Linked DNA regions of Homo sapiens: region 1 is linked to region 2. The links are contacts of gene promoters, found by promoter capture Hi-C in human tissues and cell types (Jung and others, 2019). All regions are on one chromosome and are shown on one strand. Each heading gives the region's core, a stretch centred on a gene start or on the middle of the fragment in contact. The rest is flanking DNA. Distances are from core to core; before and after follow the strand shown.

The links. The method cuts DNA at HindIII sites, captures the fragments that hold promoters and counts their contacts. A contact is called where the count stands out against the background at its distance.
Region 1: the fragment with the promoter of ACSF2 here is called in contact with the fragment with the promoter of XYLT2 in region 2 in 1 of the 25 tissues and cell types used here (adrenal gland).

Annotation. Positions count from the first base shown.
Region 1 is chr17:50,424,472-50,428,202 of GRCh38, reverse strand. It overlaps ACSF2 (acyl-CoA synthetase family member 2), which reads right to left and starts at 1,985. Exons shown (of 16, transcript NM_025149.6): 1 at 1,814-1,985. The coding sequence starts at 1,941. RefSeq lists a silencer at 1,853-2,172 and an enhancer at 1,909-2,453. The HindIII fragment of the contact is 9,502 bases long and covers 1-3,731 here.
Region 2 is chr17:50,344,857-50,348,451 of GRCh38, reverse strand. It overlaps XYLT2 (xylosyltransferase 2), which reads right to left and starts at 2,326. Exons shown (of 11, transcript NM_022167.4): 1 at 2,177-2,326. The coding sequence starts at 2,311. RefSeq lists silencers at 910-1,204, 2,020-2,109, 2,180-2,279, 2,340-2,539. The HindIII fragment of the contact is 7,409 bases long and covers 276-3,595 here.

The DNA.
Region 1 (3,731 bases), core at 736-3,235, 80 kb before region 2:
TATTTTTATTTTTTGAGTCTAGGTTTTGCTCTGCTGCTCAGGCTAGAGTGCAGTGGCATGATGACGGCTCAATGCAGCCTTGAACTCCTGGGCTCAAGTGATCCTACCACCTCTGCTTTCCAAAGTGCTGAGATTACAGGCATAAACCACCTTGCCTGGCCTGAGCCCTGAGGCTTCTGAAGGGGAAAGTAGGAGAGAAATCAGGTAAAACCATCACAGTCAGACAATAAGGGTGCAGGCACAAGGGAGTGGAAGGGGCAGAAAGAAAGTAGGCCAAACACTCAGAAAATCATCTGTCTGGATAAATGAGTCTCCTCCTGACACAGCAATAAGAATTTCTCTGAAGCTTGGTGCTCTCAGAGGTCCCAGGGCTGTAGCAGGTAAGTGACCTGTTTTGTTTATAGATAAAAAAAAGTCAAAGGTCAGAAATGTTGCCATGTGGCCTGATTTATTACTTATTTATTGGTTTGTTTGTTTGTTTTCTATTGGGCAGCCTCCTGAGCCAGAGTAGGCTGAGAGACTTCCCCTGTGGCCTGATTTAGTGTGATAAAATATGTACACTTTGGGAAGTAACTTTCCTCAGAGTCCTCCCAGCCTGAGGGGGCAGCCATGAGTCCAGAGGAGAGGCTTAAGAGACTAGGGGGTCAGGGGAGGGCCGAACTTGTCTAGGGAGACCCTGGGAAGTAGTGAGTGACTTCCCAGGGTCACTGGGAAGAGGACCCCACTGTCCTCATCTCAATCCCATCTACTGACCAGCCTTGATCCACTTAGTTTTCTCAGCAAATTAGGCAGAGTGATGTTAAGGCATTGCATGCTTTCTAGCATTCAGAAATCAGCAAGTTCAGAAAGTGTGATCTTGGAGTTCTAGCCAAAAAGGAGTCTGCATGTCCCTCCAACTCTTCCTACTTAGCCTTTTTAAAAACAAAAACAAATCTAGTTCTCTGAGACACAGCTTTGTTCTGACTTCTCCCTTTTCCATGTCCAGGCCCACACCCCATCTGATGTTGCTGAAAGTGCTGTCCTGACCATAGACTTAGTATCTGGCCGAGTTGAGTGGTAGGACAGGCTCAGTAGTGCACAGGGCTCCCCAGTGGTGCTGCTGAAGCTAACAGCCCTGATAACATGAGTGGCAGCCTGCTCTCTGTGTCTCAAGCACTTTCACATTTGCCATCTCACGGGGTCCTCCCAAGGACTGGTCACACCGGGAAGGCAGCTTTACTTACTGTGCTGCTGCAGAGGCAGTGAAGCTACTGGGAACTGAAATCCTCTGCCTGCCAGCTTCCATCCCACCCCTTGCACTGAGGACAGAAGGAAATAGGCCCAGGAGTAGGCAGCAAAGAATTAAAGCCATGTTAGTGAGCAGCTGATGAGGAGACAGGAGACTGCTAAGTTTAGTGGCCTGGGTCGGGGAGACTGGGGCTGATCCCCAAGTTTGCCCATGAAGGGGTTCCAACTCAGAGGCAGTGTCCTGGGGGTACAGCCCAGGCCTTGGCCCTTGCCCCTCCCCATCGGAATATTCTCCTTAAAGCCCACACTCCTTGCCCTCTGTGCCCATAAAGGAGAAGGAATCGAGAGTCTTGGACCAGAACTCGAAGTCACTGCAGCCACCAACCAAAGCCCCCTCCCCACCCAAGTCCACCAGGCCAAGCCAGCTTTTCCTATTGCCTAGGTGCTGGCGGGGGGCGGGGGAGGGGCGGGTACCTTCCCCCCAGTGCACTCGTCCAGAGGTGGGGCTTCCGAAGCTCGCCGGGACCTCCAAGTTCCTCTCCCGGGGAACTGCCCCGCCCCCTCTCTTCCCGCGGGGGGCCAGTACCTGAGGAAGCGGACACCCTGCAACCTGGCTTCCTGCCAACTCCGAGAGAGGGCGGCCCGGGCCCCCAGCACCCCCGAGCTCCCGGCGCACAGCCTCCCCAGGCGCAGCATCCCGACGTAGACAGCCATGGCTCGCTTTGCCCTGCGTCCCGGCCCGAGTAAACTTTTAAAGTGAGCCGGGGCGGGGCGGGCGCGCAGCGGGCGGGGAGGCGGGGAGGGTGGCCTCTGCCTATGGGGTGCGGCGGATTCGGTCTCCGCCGGCGGGGCGGGGCGGGGCGCGGCGGCGGCGACTTCGCGCGGGGCCACCTTCCCCTCCGACCCCGCGGCCCTCCCCCTCCCACCCTCGAAGAATAGCCCTGGTTTCCTCTGGATCCGAAGGCCCCAGCTGCAGTCCGAAACAGATCTTCCTCGCGACCATCCTCAGGGGCCTGGATGTTAGAAGCGCAAAAATTTGTTGATTTCCTAGAGGGAGAGCCAGCAGCACATCCGTGAGGGGCCAGATGGCAAGGTCAAGATCCATCCATCCCCTGCCCCCTCGGGTCACGTGCTGGCCCCGCTACTTGCGAGCCGGGGGCCAAAGGAGCAGGCGCGAAGCGTCCTTGAGGCATGCCAGCTGGAGCAGAGGGCCCCGCGGGGTTGGGGAGGCAGCCAGAACAAAGGGTGTCGCGGGTGAGCCCCCTGCGGGCCCGCTGGCGCCAGAGTCCCAGCTGAGGCCAGATGTCAGCTTCAGAAGGAACACCAGTTGTACCCCATCTCACAGGAGGCATCCTCCCATCCCTCCTCGGCGCCTCTGCCTTGACCTTCTGCACAGGGTTGGGGGCCGGACACGTAAGGTGGCCTCAGGGACTGGGACCTGTGTATTTCATCCTCCATCTGCCTGTCTTGGGGCCTGTGGCACAGTTCCCTGTGCTGCCCCAGGTGTGAATGGAAAGCAACCCTATGCCCCTCCTTAGGGTTCCTGAGGCCCAGGGGTGAGTGGGGTACTAAGACCTGGGCAGAGCTGCGGGACAGAGAAGGTGATAGCTCTGGTCCTGGCTAGGAAAAGTGGCACTGGGCACCAAAGAGTAGCACAGTTTATACCTGTTCCAGGTCCACACTGCCTCGGCCTAGCCATGACTCTTCCTCTAGAGAAGGAGCTGGAGAAGAATGGGGCAAAGGCCCTGGCAGTGTGACCTCCCCTCTCCTGACTGGAGGAGATGAAGTAAACCCTGCCAGGCAGAAGGGGTGGCTGAGAGTGGAGCCTGGCCTGAGGTGACCTTTGCCCTTATCTGGGAACTCTGGCTCCACTTGGGTCATGAGAAGGAGTCCATGCTGGGCCTCTTTATGATCTTGAGCGTGACCTCAAATCCTCCCTGGAACCCCGGTTCCTAGGGAGGGTCCCCACACTTCAGTTTCTGTGGGGTTGGGGCAGGAAGAGACAGAGGAACAAAGAGATCACCGGAGGCTGGGCCTGCAAGGGTGTGCTTTCCTAATTAGACTAACTGTCTTTGATAGCGGACCAGGGAATGTGGAGGGCTGGGGCATTCACAAGTCTGGGTTCCCAGCCGTGGCTGGCAGGCTTAGCCTCTAGCATGCTGGGTGACCCTGGGTAAACCACTGTCCCTCTCTTGGCCTATGAAGTGTGGGGTGGGTACTGATCTTGTAGGTCCTTCCACTCTTCTGGCTAGTTTGAGGGTCAGTCCTAGAGTGGGAGAGAAGTGAGTTCCTCCTTGAACTTTGCTCCAGCCTCGGCTTTTCAAGACACTGGGCTTTCCTGACTCTTCCTAGGTGCACAGGCCGTGGCATCATAGCCATCAGTTTCAGGGTATCTTGTACATGCCAGGCTCTTCAAGGACATTTTCTCTGACCCTCACAAACACCCTGCAAGGAACAGGCATGGCTTGGAATGTGTCTTTGTTTTTATGGATGAAGAAACTGAA
Region 2 (3,595 bases), core at 1,077-3,576:
TTGCTCTGGTCCTTTCAGCCGCACAGAATGGAACCTTCTTTCAGGGAAAGCACCACACCCTCCTGTCCATTCCTCAAGGGTGCCCAGCTAAGCCCATTCTCCTCAGGCCTTCTGCCTGAACTCTCCTGCCCACCTCTTCCTGTGAGAAGCCTTTCCTGACCCCCTGATCTAAGCCAACCCCTTTGTAATTCTATTAAATTCCTTTTCGCTGTCTGTTTCTCTCTGTAGATTACCTGTCCATGAGGGCAGAGACCTCATCTATTTTATTTTTGTATCCCCAGTATTAGCACAGTGTCTAGTACAAAGTAGGACTTCACACCTATTTGTGGAATGAATGAATGAATGAATGAATCGTATTCCCAATGCACAGTGCTGGGATAATAAGAGTTATTTATTTACTGACAGCTGAGCATGTGCCAGGAACTCCTGCAAGTGCTTCACAGGCATCATTTTCACTTAATCTTTATAATCACCTAACACGGGAGGTGCCATTATTATCCCCATCTTGAGGAGGGATACTGATAAGGATAAGGGAGGAGGCAAAGTGATTTGCTGGTGGTCTTCTCAGGGTCAGAGCTGGAAGAGAGTGGTGAAGTGGGTGGTCCAGCTTCAGCACTCACCTTCCCATGCACCCCGTTATGCTGCCTGGCAACCCCAGAGTCAGGTGAGGGAGCAGCTGAGGGGGTCCAAGCAGCAATGGGTGCCTGGACCGCACAAGCTTTTTCAAACATTCCAGCCCAGGATTCCCCTATTCATTCAGCCAGGAAGCTGGAGGAGGAGGTGGTGGGGGATGGGGGCGGTAGCCCAGAGTGGTCACATATTCCAGGGTCAGAGGGCTCCCTAACTGCTTTGGCAGCCCATTCCATCTTGGAATGTCCCATCTGCCCAAACAGTCTTCTTACACTGGGCCTGAAACACTCTCCTACTTGCTTGTCCTACTTGTAGGTCTACACCCCACGGATGTCACGGAGCCAGCCCCACCCCCGCCCCCACCTCCTTTTGGAGTTATGGTCTCATGTGACTCTGTTCCAGCCCCCATCACCATCCCACCCTCTGGGTTCTCCCAAAAAAAGGCAAGGGCAGCTCTTCTGTCTCCACACCAGGCCTTCCAGACTGGCGAGATGCGGTAAGGGGTCGCGGGTATCGGGGCTTGCCGGAGGACAGCAGCAGATAGAGTCTCTGACCCGGAGCCCTGGAGGCAGCAGAACAGGGGCGCTGGGGGCAGGGAGGTCCTGACCTCTGGGCCACAGCTTAGGGCTGTGGTGTGGCCTGTCCTCTCCATCTCCGCAGCACGAACCCAGACCCAATGGACCCTTCCTCACCACACCGCTGAGGTGTCTGAGCCTCCCGCTGAAACCACATCGGGGAAGAGGGAGAAAGACCCTCGAGGCAGGGACTTGGGGGCTGAGACGGCTGTTGGTTGCCCCTGCTCTGCGGCTGGGGCTCTGTTACAGTCCCCATTCCCTTAAAGCCAGAGGGCCCCTCCCTAATTCCCTAAGGTCCTGAGGCCAACTCACCAGCTCAGTTCCTCCTCTCCCTGCCCTCCGGAGACCCATCCAGGTTCTTCAAACCCCCGGCTGAGGAAGCCACACCTCGGGAATACTCCAGTTCTCTCCTTCGGCGTCACTCCCTGTTCCTTCAGTTCCCGGGTACACACTTTGTCCCAGGCCTGAATTCCACCCCCGAGCTCCCCTTCCTCACCGGCCGCTGCCCCTCGGGCTCAGCTGGGGAAGGACGCCCTGAGTCCCTTGGCCCTACTCCTCCGCCCACGGCGCGCATATCCCCGCCCCCTCCCAACTTCAGAAAGTTTGGCCTGGGGCTCCCCACCTCCGAGCAGGTTCGGGCCCAGCCCCGCCTCCCAGCCCCGCTCGCCGCGCCTGACCTTCATCGCTCCCTTGGCCGGAGACCACCCTAGCATGACCTGCTCCCCCCGCCCGACTCCCAATCCACCAGGGCCCGGGTCTCCAGGTCACGCACTGCCCCCGCGCGCAGCTCCCTAGGCCTGCTGGGGAAGGGAGTGCCGGGGGCCGGATGCTCCGCTCTGGGCGACCGCCGGCGCCCCGCACGCACGCACGCGGCCCGTGCCCCACTTCCCCGGCTGGGGCCGCCCGCAGCCCCGCCAGGACCCCGCGCGCCCCCGCGCCCGGCCTGCCCGCCCGCCCGGCCGTCGGAGCACCTCGCCCGCCTCGTCCTCCTCCAGGCCGCTGAAGCTCCACACTACCAGGCCCTGCAGCAGCAGGATGGCCAGCGCCGTGGCAATCGCCAGCTTGTAGCGCCGCACCAGCTTCTGCACTCGCGCGCTCGCCACCATCTTCCTGCCCGGGACGCGGGGCGCGCGCCCAGCCCTGCAACCCGGCCGCGAGCGCGCGCACGGGCGCGGGGCTGAGCCGCCCCCCCTCCTCCACGCCTAGGGAGGCGGGCCGGGCGCGCGCCGGGGCGGGGCCGGGGGCGGGGCCTGCGGGGCCAAAGCACGGCGCACCGCAGGCTAGGGGTGGAGCCGGGGCTCGCAACACCTTCAGTCCCGGCAGTCGCGGGCGTGGGCTTGAGCGCGTGCCTTCTGCGCTCGTGTCTCCGCCGGTGCCCCTGGCTCCCACGTGTGCTCCCCTCCACCTGGACGGCGAGCGCCTGGTGCTGGGGAGTGGAGGGTCTGCGGCACAACCTCTCTTGCCTGGTGTCGGGGGTCGTGGGCGAGTTCAGTCCCACGCGGGTAAGCTCTCGGTCCCGGGGGCCCAGGGAACGCCAGGGCTCCCAGAGACGCCGCCTTGGGAGAGGGCGTGTGAGAGCCACAGGCGTCTGCTTAAAAACCTGGAGGCCGCACCTGCGGGGCAAAGTCTAACCCCTTGACTGGCATCAGAGAGCCTTCACGAATCCTCCTTTCCGCTCTGCGCTCATCCTAAGCATCCTCAGGCCGCTCCCAGAGTCGTGGTTCTCAAACTACTCTAGCGTGTGTTGGAGTCTCTTGGAGGTCTTGATAAAACAGATTTTTAGTGCCCCTCCTCCCTCCCCCAGAGTGTCTGCTTTGGTAGGTCGGTAGTGAGGCCTAAGCATTAGAATTTTCAGCAGGTTCCCAGGTGATGCTGATGCCTTTGCTCTGGGACCAAACTTGGAGAACCAGTAGACCTCGACACATGCTGCTCCCTCTGCCAAGTCCCCACCCCCTACACCATCAGTGGCATCCTCCCTGTGCGTCCCCAGCACTGTGCAGTGAGCACCAATCATACATCCGGTCGTGACTGCTCTGGGATCTCGCCCTGCCTTGGACACCCAGCAATGCTCAAGAAATGTTGCGGAAAGCAAGCAGGGGAGGCCCAGATTCCCGTCTAACCAGCTGTCCCTAACATTTGTTTGAGAACCCGGCGTGTTCAATGAGCACCGCATTGGACAAGGTCTAAGCACCTGCGGCCTTCCCTAAGCCTGGCAGGCCCATGGAGAGAGGGAAGGCGAGAAGAGCAAAACAGTGGCCACCAAAGCAAGGTGAATCCCCAGCTGGGGAAGCCAGGCACTGGGAGGAGGAAGTCATAAAAATAGCAAACACAAGTTAGAAGGTTTAAAGGGAAGACGTTAGGAACCACTACAGAGAGGTCTGGAAAGAGAA